Linked DNA regions of Homo sapiens: all the other regions are linked to region 3. The links are contacts of gene promoters, found by promoter capture Hi-C in human tissues and cell types (Jung and others, 2019). All regions are on one chromosome and are shown on one strand. Each heading gives the region's core, a stretch centred on a gene start or on the middle of the fragment in contact. The rest is flanking DNA. Distances are from core to core; before and after follow the strand shown.

Region 1 (2,700 bases), core at 183-2,682, 360 kb before region 3:
GAACATCTAATGTGTCTTTTGGTACTAGTTTTCCAAGTATTTTGAGCAAGTCAGAAGTATGTATTGGCATTTGCTAGATAACATTTATTCTACAAGTAATTGTAGGGCATGTGTCTTAAACAATAGAAAAACCAAGGCAAGTAAGATAGGCGCAGGAGTTTGTACTGATTTAGACAAGAAATATGGATCATAAAGCTCAAACTTTGTTTAGAGATGTGAAACTAACAGTAGGTTGACCTCCACAGGCTACCACTTCCGTTCCATTCTTTATCCCTCACACAGAAATGCTTCACTTTAGGATTCTTACAACTTACTCCCAAACACTAATTAGGTGCAGCTATAATGAGTTATAGTTGAATTTATGTAGCTATGGGTTCAGGGGGCTTTCTTTACATCAAAAACCGGTGACGGTATTCCAAGTACAGCACAGTTTACAGTAATAGTAATGATGTGCAGTTTTAAAATATTTTAGAGACATTTTTACTTTGTTGGGTATTAAGACTTTCACCAAAAAGGAATCTTAAGTTATCTTAATTTTTAAGAGGGACAGCATGTCTGAGAACATATATGGGAAGTGATTCTTAGGAAATCCATTTGGGTAAACATTCTTTACTTTTAAAACCGTGATGCCCATGGGAGGAAAATGTATTATTGCTGCTTGAGTGAACTGTATCTTGGCAAGGAGTGTTTTAGGCAGAGGAAAGCTTAAGCACTTTGAATTGGGAGCATGCTTATTATGGACGAGGAACAGAACAGAGGTCAGTATAGTTGGAATAGAGTGACTGAAAGGAAAGGGTGGTTGGAAGCCAGGGCTCCACCGGGTAAAGCTTTGGAGGATATTGAAAGTCTCTAGCTTTTACTGTGAGGGTGGGTAGTCTTTGCAGCCTTGTAAGCTGAGTGGTGACCTGACTTAAGGTAGTGTTTTAAAGAATCTGTGATTTCTCTGCTGAGAACAGACTCTAGGAAGGCAACAGTGGAAGTAGGGAGACAAGTTTTTGGTGGCTACTGAAGACAGTCCAGGGGCTAGAGCTCATGATTGATTGGATCAGGGTGGCAATAGTTGTGGAAGATTCTGGATATATATTCCTATTGCCAAAAGGTTCCTGGTCCAAGGAATTACATTAAAGATGGAATTAAATCCAGTGGATATAATTCCTGTCCTTGCTAATCTGAAGATCCTTAGGCACATGTATTATTCTATTTTGATTCTATCTTCTGCACGTTATTTTATTTAAGGATGGAGTTAGAAAGAAATTTCAGGGAACCCTGAGAGCATTCAGTTACCTTGCCCTAATATGTCTGAAACAAGGATCTAGTAATAGAACTTTACATTTTTAATTATCCTATATATATTCTTTATTCTTAGTCTATTTTTCTGTACCAATTAATCTTAAAATTATGTGCCTGTCCTGGATTCGTAATAAGGAGAATATCCCATTTGATAGCTGGGCTTTAGGGTGATAAAATCTTAAGTGATAGAGTAGTTAGAAAAAGCAACTATTAGGAGTTCTGGTTTGAATATACCCATCCTTTAAAAGGGTAATTTCTTGTGGCGTCTGCACAATTAAATGATATTCATGTTTTTTTCTCCCGCCCGCCACCTTTTTTTTTTTTTTTTTTTTTTTTTGAGACATGATCCCACTGTGTCGCCCTGGCTGGAGTGCAGTGGCGCAATCTTGAATCACTGCAACTCCCGGGCTCAAATGATCTTCCCCAGTAGCTGGGACTGCAGGCACACACCACCATGCCCAGCTAATTTTTAAAATTTTTTTGTAGAGATGGAGATGGAGTTTCTCCATGTTGCCCAGGCTGGTTGCAAACTCCTGGGCTCAAGTGATCCTTCTGCCTCAGCCTCGCAAAGTGCTGGGATTATATGCATGAGCCACTGTGCCTGGCCCATGATTAATTTTTTTAACTGAATTTCTTCTACTATAGTTGAATGGTATTTTGTTTAATTGTGATAATAAAGTAGGAAGACATCTCAATTTTAGACTAAAATACAGTTTTATTTAACTCATACTATGAAATTCTATCATAATGCCTGTAGGATATAAATATAATTTCTGTTTTCTGACTCTGATGAGAGACAGATCTTTATTACCATTATTAATTCAGAATTTTTACTTGTACTAGGTACTTCACATGATTTCAAGTATGGTTTGATGCCTGGTCCTTCAAATGATTTCAAGTATGGATTGATACCAGGTACTTCAAATGATTTCAAGTATGGATTGATACCAGGTGCTTCAAATGATTTCAAGTATGGATTATTGCCAGAATCTTGGCCAAAACAAGAAACCTGGGAAAATGGCAAGTATTAGTCAACTAAACAAATACAGAATTAATTAAATAATTGTTAACAATTAAAAGCTTTCATGTTCTGCATTTTTTAAAAACCAAGTAGCAGTAGCTCCACATAATTGCTGTTCTCAGAGATAGAGATAAGAAGTTTTGATAGCAAGTTTTCTGTTTAATGTGTAATAAGCACTTTCTCTTTTTTTAATTCTCATAGGTGAATCATCTCTAATCATGAACAAGTTAAAATGCCCTCATTGTAGCTATGTAGCCAAATACAGACGAACACTAAAAAGGCACTTGCTCATTCACACAGGAGTGAGATCATTTAGCTGTGATATTTGTGGAAAACTGTTTACTCGAAGAGAACATGTAAAAAGACATTCCCTGGTAAGTAACTTTAAA
Region 2 (2,700 bases), core at 33-2,532, 340 kb after region 3:
TTTCAAGCCTCTAAAGTGCTCTAAGCTCCTCAGAGAAAAATGCTAAGTACAGGGTATTATTATTTCATGAGCTTTGGGCTTACTTTGACAGTCATTATAGTTGTTCCATTTATAATATGCTGGGACGGCTTCCATAAAGTGCATCTTTTGTATGTGCATTTGTAATTCATTAAAAGCGCACACTCATTTTGGGAAATGCCCTTTCAGAGATACGGGCATTGAAGTTGTGAGAAGGCAGCTACTTTGCCCAAATTACTTAGTGCCATCTGAGGGCACAGAGAGGGCCAGTCCCAACTGGAGCTCTTGGCATGATGTCTTCTGTTTCAAAATAGGGTCTCAGCAACTCTCTATGAATTATTTACACGAGAGAGATTTTTGAGAATTTCACTTTGCGGACAGCTCTTTTGAGGATATAATTTGGCAAGGAATTATCATCCTTGCCTCTGTTTCTATAAAGAGGCCTGAAGACTGTAATAGGAAAACCATTAGATTTGAAAAATGTAATTTTATTTTACTTACAAATTTTATAATCTACAGGAAAAAAAGCCCAATCCATTTCTTTGTTAATATCATTCAATTGCAGCATATTTCATTTGTAAATGCAGTATGCTTTCCACTATTTTAATAAGCATTTCTGCTGCTTCTCTTGGGGTTTTGTGATCGCAGTCAATAGCCATAAACTGTGAAGATGTAACAGGATGTTTCATCTCATTAAGATGCCACGCAGCCAGGATTCCTTCGTCTTCCTTCTTACATCTGATTTGTGCTCCTCAAATATGACCTTTAAGGCCTTCATTGCTTTGCAAACACATTGCATGTCCCAAGGGCACATAATTAAGTAGGTCACATGCTTCCTATTACATATTAGTGCTTGCCTTTCAACATGCATTTCCTCTGTTCCACTGTGGGAAAATTCTCTTTTTCATAAAGCATTCCTGAATAAGTTCTTGGCACTTTCCATAGAAAAAATGTCCTTGATATATTGTGGGAATACTTAAGGTCATGTGGGATTTCGTCAGTCATGAGAATAATTGGTCTCACATTTTTTAAAGAGTAGAGTCCACTTACACTAATTGTAGTATTGCCTTAGGCTTGTATTTCTAGAGCATAAAAGAACTCTCAAGGATAAGAGTTTCAGTTGTACCCTTTGCCAATTAAAGTATGTCAATAATTTTTGAATAATGCTCTCTATAAAATGTCACAATAAAAAAACCATTTCAAATGTATTTTGATAATCTTTGACATTAATAAATTGACTTGCATAAATGCATATGGACTTGGTCGAGTTTCTATTAATTCCTTTTGAAAATGGTATTTCCTATGCATGCTGTAGGATTTGGCAATCAAATAAATAAATATGCATGCGGTAATTGTTTATAATTTTGCTCTCATAATTTTAACAACTGAGTGTGAATTTTGAGCAACAAGATAAAATTTCATTTTGCTATGATTATTGTAAAATATTTTAAAATATTTATTACAAGTAGATATTTTCTTTTTTCAAATTTATTTATTGAAATTAACAAATAAACTTGTATGTATTTAGTATAAGTAGATTTTGAAGAAAATCAGGATTAGTGGCTCTGTCCCTCCACCTCATCATATTATCCTTTGTAAACTCAGCAAATTTTCTCCACCCGAGTAATCAACTGGATTAATTCAAGATGAAGCATTTGTGCCCTAATTAACAGGCCCATTTAATTAAATTGGATTTCGTGACTACTGACTTCTTCCTCCTAGTGAGACTAATAAAGAGATAGCAACAAAACTCAATTGAGTTTCACATGAAGATTGTGTTAAGAAATCAATAGGAGATGAGATGGTAGCAATGAAGACCCAGAACCGTATAGAACAGTGCTTCCCAGATTTGATGAGCTTAAAAATCACCTGGAGATCCTGTTAAAACTGGAATTTCAATTCAGTCATCCTGGAGTGGGCCAGAGATTGATTCTTTGTTTCTAAAGAGCCCTCAGGTGATGCTGAAGCTGTTTGGAGAGAGGAACCATGTTTTGAATAGCAAGTTCATAGACAAGTGTTGTATCACAGTTTACTATTTGTATAAGTACTATTGTTCAGTGCACAGTTCTGTGGGACCACTCAAGGATGAGCTGCCTCCTTTGGTTGTAAAAGAAGAAATACCTGAGGGAATTGTAGCAATGCATTGGGTTTCAAAATGTACCTTCCGGATTCAAATACAACTGTTTGGCTTCTCTCATCTTTGTCCCTTGCTGTTACTTTTGCACCAACCTAATAGAACTGTCCTGAACTACAGCTATTGACTTTAGGCAGGATGGCTGGTGTTGATTTTATTCTGAAATATATCATTGCGTGATAGTGACAAGTGGAAAGCATGGGCCTAAAGATATTATAGACATAGTCACAAAGGGCGACTTACTTGGGGGAACACGGGTGTGGAGGTGCTGTCAGACTCTGCTCATGTCTGGGTGCATGCTGGTGTGTGCTCATGTGTGGCTTACACCCTTAGTCAGGTGGATTTGCACTACAATGGACTTTTTACTTTTACTTTTTTTTTGGACCATGGAATGAAGCTTTCATTTTCAATATTCTTCATTATGAGGACCTGCCTTTTTTTTTTTTTTTTTTTTTTTTTTTGAGACACGGTTTCACTCTGTCACCTAGACTGGAGTGCAGTGGCATGATCTCAGCTCACTGCAGCCTCAAACTCCCAGGCTCAAGTGA
Region 3 (2,749 bases), core at 59-2,558:
CCCCGGGGCCCGGGCCCGTCCCCCTCCCCGGGCTGGCGGGTCCCACGCGCGCCACCGCGCCCAACACGCACCTTCAACGCGCCCCGGGCCGGGCCCCTGGGGACTGCGTGGCCGGGTCCGAGGGGCACGAAACGCTCCTCGCCGTCCTCGTCGTCTTCGTCGCCGTCCACCACCTCGACGACCACCTCCTCGTCCTCCTCTTCCTCGTCGTCATCCTCCTCCTCCGCGCCCCCTCGGGGCTTCTCCTCCACACGCCCGAGCCCCCTCCGCCGCCTGCTCCCGCCCTCCTCGTCCTCGTCTTCCTCCCCTAGAAGCAGCAGCACCGGCGACGAGGCGGCGGCGGCGGCCCCGGTGGCCCGAGGGGGGCCGGTCCCGGCGCTGCGCGGCGGCGGCGGCAGCGGCGGCCTCCAGCTCTCCGGGGCGGGCGCCGGGGCCGGGCCCGGGACAGGGGGCGGGAGCCCGGGTAGGGCGGCTTCCTTGGCGGGCGCGGGCGCCGGCCCGGCAGGCTGCAGCGCGGCGCCCCCCCGGCGGCTGCCCAGGCTGGAGCGCTTGGCTAGACGCCGCGCCTGCATGCCTGAGCGCGGGGTTGCGGGCCGCGGCGCGGGGCCGGAGAGTTTGTCACCTCCTCTTCCTCCTCTGCCTCCGCCGGTGGCCGCAGGGCCGGGGACTCGCGGCCGCAAGGGGCTGCAGGAGCCGCCGGCCAGGACCCGCGGCTGCCACTGGCTGCAGAGGCGCGGGCGCCGCCTTCGCTGGACCGGCCGGCGGGGACGCCGGCGGCCGGCGGCTACGGCGGGGCGGCGCGGCGGCCGCGGGCGGGGGTGGGTGTGAGCGAGCGGCGCGCTGCCGCCTCCGCCGCCGCCGCCGCCGCCCGGGAGCCGCGGGCCGCGCTGCGCTCCATGCGGCCGGCGGCCGAGCCCGCGCGCGCCTCTCCCGGCCGGCTGCGCCCGCGCGCTCCGGGCCTACCGCTGCCGTGCCTCGGCGCGAGCTGTTTGTGTTGTATGTTTTCCACCACCGCCCCCCTCTTCGCGAGCCATTCCTCACAACCCTCCGGTCCCCCCGCTCAGACAAAACCCGGACTGGATTTTTTTTTTCTCTTACCCACAGTCTCCGAAAGTCTGGCGCTTCGAAGCAGTTGGCCCTGACACCAGGGCAAACGCTTAACCGCAGCCCATTCTTCCCTCCGGAGGGAGGGGAGTAGACTTCGCTGGAAGTAAGGTTGTCTGTCAAAGTTAGACTTTGAACGTAGAGATTTGCTACAAGTCATTTTAATGGACACTGATGTGCATGGCAGCTACTCCTGAGCTTGTGTGAAATCAAGGAAGGTGTACCAATCTGAGGTTTGGGATGAATTCCTAATATGAATCATCAGAGTCGCTTAGATTTTCGAAACACTGTTTCATGAGCGATTGTCTACCAATCTCACACTCTTTGAACGCACCACTCTAGGCCCTGCGATTGAGCTGCCTTGGCTCTGTGCTGAGTGTGTAGGTCTTTCAGCTTTTACTCCTGCTATTCTACCTTGAGTGCCTGATTTTAATGGCTGAATTCCAAGAAGCTTTCTGTTTGCACTGTCTGATCTGTAGACTCTCTTCTGGCATTGTTCAGGACTTTGAAGAAACAAATGGGTGGGAGTTCAAGATCGTTTGAGTTGGTTACTTAAGAAATTAATATGAAGTAAGACCAAATCTGGAAATCAAGCACATAACATGACTAATTTTGCCATTTTCTGACGATTTTTAGGTGTGATAAAGAAAATATATTTGCTATTGCGTGGGGTTAGGCTATGTAGTAAGTGGTATTTCTTCTTTTATTTATTTTAATTTTTATTTATATATATTTCTTTATTTTTCAGATGGAGTTTCGCTCTTGTTGCCAAGGCTGGAGTGCAATGTCATGGTCTGGGCTCACTGTAACCTCCGCCACCTGGGTTCAAGCGATTCTCCTGCCTCAGCCTCCTGAGTACCTGGGATTAAAGGCGCGCTCCACCATGCCATGCTAATTTTGTATTTTTCGTAGAGACAGGGTTTCACCATGTTGGCCAGGCTGGTCTCAAACTCCTGACCTCAGATGATTTGCCTGCCTTGGCCTCCCAAAGTGCTGGGATTACAGGTGTGAGCCACCGTGCCCGGCCTTAAGTCGTATTTCTTACATTCAAATCATACCCCCAATTCCATCCCTGTAGAGGAGGGCTGGGGAGGATCTTACGCATCAAATACCCTGGTAGGCACCTCCGTGGGGCCAGAATAAAAGGTGTATTCACCTTCAGTTAATTATTGTTGGACATTTAACATCATATGCTCTGTTAGACACTTGAATGGGGCTCATTAAATGCTCACTTATGGTGGCTTCCAACTGTTGAACAGGGATGATGACAAAGATTCTAAAATGAACTTTTTGTTCTCCCTGAATCAGATTAGCTTCCTGATGTACCTATTTCAGGTGATGAAACTCTCATTATAATCATTTGAGCCCAAAATAGCGGTATCATTTTAACTCCCTTCTCTACCTTATCCCTAGAGGCAATTGCCCACAAGTCCAACCCATTGTTCTTTCTAAAATGCATTTTGAATCCACCCCTTCCTTTCCATTCCCAAAGCTCTTACAGCATTTTGTGACTTCAAAAGTGGAAGTTTCTAACAGTTCTACACACCCATTTTCTCACCCACACACCCTCCCTTTCCCTCCTCAGATGCCACCACCAGATTTATGTTTCCGAAACCCCATTTAGATCACACCATTTTCTTGTTGG
Region 4 (2,749 bases), core at 227-2,726, 300 kb before region 3:
ATACCTCATGGCTCCTTCTGAAGGAGTCCTTCATGAGGAAGTAAGTAAATAGGGATTTTCTCTTTTTTGAAGAAACTAGATATTTTTTCTTACACAGTGAAACACAGGTCTTTCTTCATTACTCCATGCGGTGGTCACACTTAGCCCCATCAGAATAGTTATACAGGCACAGTCACACACCAAGGAACAGTTCAACACACACACGCACACACACACAAACACATGCACACATTCTTCAATAGGATGTTTTTCAAATTGGCAAACATGAAGAAAAATTTTCAACTTTTATACTTCCAAAGTTCCTAAAAATAGCTGAGTCTATTTGATAGCAATTTTTGGCATTTTTGAGGGAAATAAGTTTACTCATATTTTCAAATATGTAAGCTTAAACTGCATAATTAAAGAATTCAATATCATCTTTAATTTGTTTTATTGTCTTTTTTTTTTTGAGATGGAATTTCACTCTTGTCGCCCAGGCTGGAGTGCAGTGGTGGGATCGTAGCTCACTGCAACCTCCACCTCCCTGGTTCAAGCCATTCTCCTGCCTCAGCCTCCCAAGTAGCTGGGACTACAGGCATGTGCCACCATGCCTGGCTAATTTTTGTATTTTTAGTAGAGATGGGGTTTCATCATGTTGGTCAGGCTGGTCTCGAACTCCTGACCTCAAATGATCTGCCTGCCTAGGCCTCCCAAAGTGCTGGGATTACAGGCATGAGTCACCGCCCCCGGCCCTGTTTTATTGTTTTAGTATTTAACTACTAAATGTGCAGTTTCATCATTAGCTTTTTTTGTACTTTTGTGTTTTTATTTTTAATTTTTTATCATTAGCCTTTAAAAAATCAAAATGAAAGTATTATTGGATAACATAAAGCTTCCCTTGATTTCAAAAAATTCCAGTTTTGCCTACTGCTTGAAACTTTAGGTTATGGTCTCATGAGCATGGTATTTCACCTGAGATCCATTTCTTTGGATTTCAATGTCTTCCTATGTAAGATGGGTATCTTTCTGCTCCAGAACAGTATTGTTACCATGAGGTAATCTATGTTTAAGAGTGTCATAGGAGGCAGAAGGGAATCACTTGGCTGTGTCATAAAATTTAATATGTAGAGTTTTCTTTTCTTTCTTTTTTTTTTTTTTTTTTTTTGAGATGGAGTCTCGCTCTGTCGTCCAGACTGGAGTGCAGTGGCGCGATCTTGGCTCACTGCAACCTCTGCCTCCCGGGTTCAAGCGATTCTCCTGCCTCAGCCTCCCAAGTAGCTGGGACTACAGGCGTGTGCACCATGCCTGGCTAATTTTTTGTATTTTTAGTAGAGACGGGGTTTCACCGTGTTAGCCAGGATGGTCTCGATCTCCTGACCTCGTGATCCACCCGCCTCAGCCTCCCAAAGTGCTGGGATTACAGGCGTGAGCCACTGCGCCCGGCCTATTTTCATAATTTAAAAAACAATTTATTGTTGATAGTGTTTCATGCAGTGGTTATAAGATCATTTTCTTAAAAATTTTAAGCTTTTAATTATTTGGGTTTTTTAAAAAAAAATGGCTGAATTTTAAAAATTGCATTTAGCCTGAGGACTTAATGTCTGTTTTGTGTTTATTGTCTGATGAATTTCTTCTGTTATTTCTATTTACTTATTATGGAATCATGAGATTTTAGAGCTATGAGCCATCATGGAAGTTGCCTAGTTCTTATCCAACCATTTTATTTGATAATGGAGGCCCAGAGTCGGTTGAATAGTGGTTCAAAGTCACCCAGTGTCTACTCATCTGCTTTTGTCTGAATGAATTAATATTTGCATGAGACTTCTGAGAAAGATCCCGTTTCTTTGATGGAACAACTCTTCCAGCAGAATAGGGTTCATTGTACCCTAAGGTGGGCAGCAGCTGAACACCAACATTGGGCTTTCTGGTGAGCAAGGCCTCTCCAGAATGCACAGAGACTTAGACTAAGTCTTTCTTCTAAGATCTGGTCATCCAAGTCCTGCCCCCTTGAAACACCTGTTCAATGGTATGCTTATGCCAGACTGATCCCTTCTGTGAAGTTTTCCCCTCTGAGCTGAGACATAGGTTAGGTGAGATTCCTGCTATGTCCTTTCTTATTTTGTCCTGGGGTCCCAGACACAAACCTCAGTAGGAGGCAGCACTTTATAACTGAAAAAAACCCTGTACAGAGGGTTCTGCCACAAATGTATGACCCCAGGTAAGTCACTTAACATCTCTGGTTTGTAATAGAGTGAATTAGATGATCTCTAAGATAAATGAGGGGGAGAAAAACAGATGTTTAATTGAATCATAAAAGGAGACTAATAGACTAATTTTTTGTATTTATTTTATTTTTATTTTTTATTTAATTAATTAATTTATTTATTTTTGAGACAGAGTCTTGCTCTGTCGCCCAGGCTGGAGTGCAGTATTGTGATCTTGGCTCACTGCAACCTCCGCCTCCTGGGTTCAAGCGATTCTCCCACCTCAGCCTCCCAAGTAGCTGCGATTACAGGCGCAAGCAGCCACACCTAGCTAATTTTTGTATTTTCATTAGAGGCAGAGTTTCACCATGTTGGCCAGGCTGGTCTCGAACTCCTGACCTCAAGTGATCTGCCCGCCTCGGCTTCCCAAATTGCTGGGATTACAGATGTGAGCCACCACGCCCGGTGTATTATTATTTTTAAAGTCATGGTAATAAGTAGCGGTTAACATGGAACAAGGATATAAGTATATTTTAGAGAATCTGGAAGTCAAGGTAGGAAGAGCT

Evidence for each region. Contacts are between HindIII fragments. The study calls those that stand out against the background at their distance.
Region 1: a fragment that was not itself captured here is called in contact with the fragment with the promoter of ZNF704 in region 3 in 1 of the 25 tissues and cell types used here (hippocampus).
Region 2: a contact is called between a fragment that was not itself captured here and the fragment with the promoter of ZNF704 in region 3, in 2 of the 25 tissues and cell types used here (dorsolateral prefrontal cortex and thymus).
Region 4: a contact is called between a fragment that was not itself captured here and the fragment with the promoter of ZNF704 in region 3, in 4 of the 25 tissues and cell types used here (adrenal gland, aorta, dorsolateral prefrontal cortex and 1 more).

What each region holds. Positions count from the first base shown.
Region 1 is chr8:80,516,270-80,518,969 of GRCh38, forward strand. ZBTB10 (zinc finger and BTB domain containing 10) reads left to right here. Exons shown (of 6, transcript NM_001105539.3): 4 at 2,134-2,310; 5 at 2,513-2,685. Among named protein-coding and RNA genes, the nearest start is that of LINC02986, 22 kb to the right of the region's middle. The HindIII fragment of the contact is 4,008 bases long and covers 1-2,700 here.
Region 2 is chr8:81,216,001-81,218,700 of GRCh38, forward strand. No RefSeq gene overlaps it. Among named protein-coding and RNA genes, the nearest start is that of FABP5, 63 kb to the right of the region's middle. The HindIII fragment of the contact is 4,498 bases long and covers 1-2,700 here.
Region 3 is chr8:80,873,473-80,876,221 of GRCh38, forward strand. ZNF704 (zinc finger protein 704) reads right to left here and starts at 1,309. Exons shown (of 9, transcript NM_001033723.3): 1 at 1,099-1,309. RefSeq lists a silencer at 1-188. The HindIII fragment of the contact is 4,011 bases long and covers 1-2,749 here.
Region 4 is chr8:80,569,947-80,572,695 of GRCh38, forward strand. No RefSeq gene overlaps it. Among named protein-coding and RNA genes, the nearest start is that of LINC02986, 32 kb to the left of the region's middle. The HindIII fragment of the contact is 3,112 bases long and covers 1-2,749 here.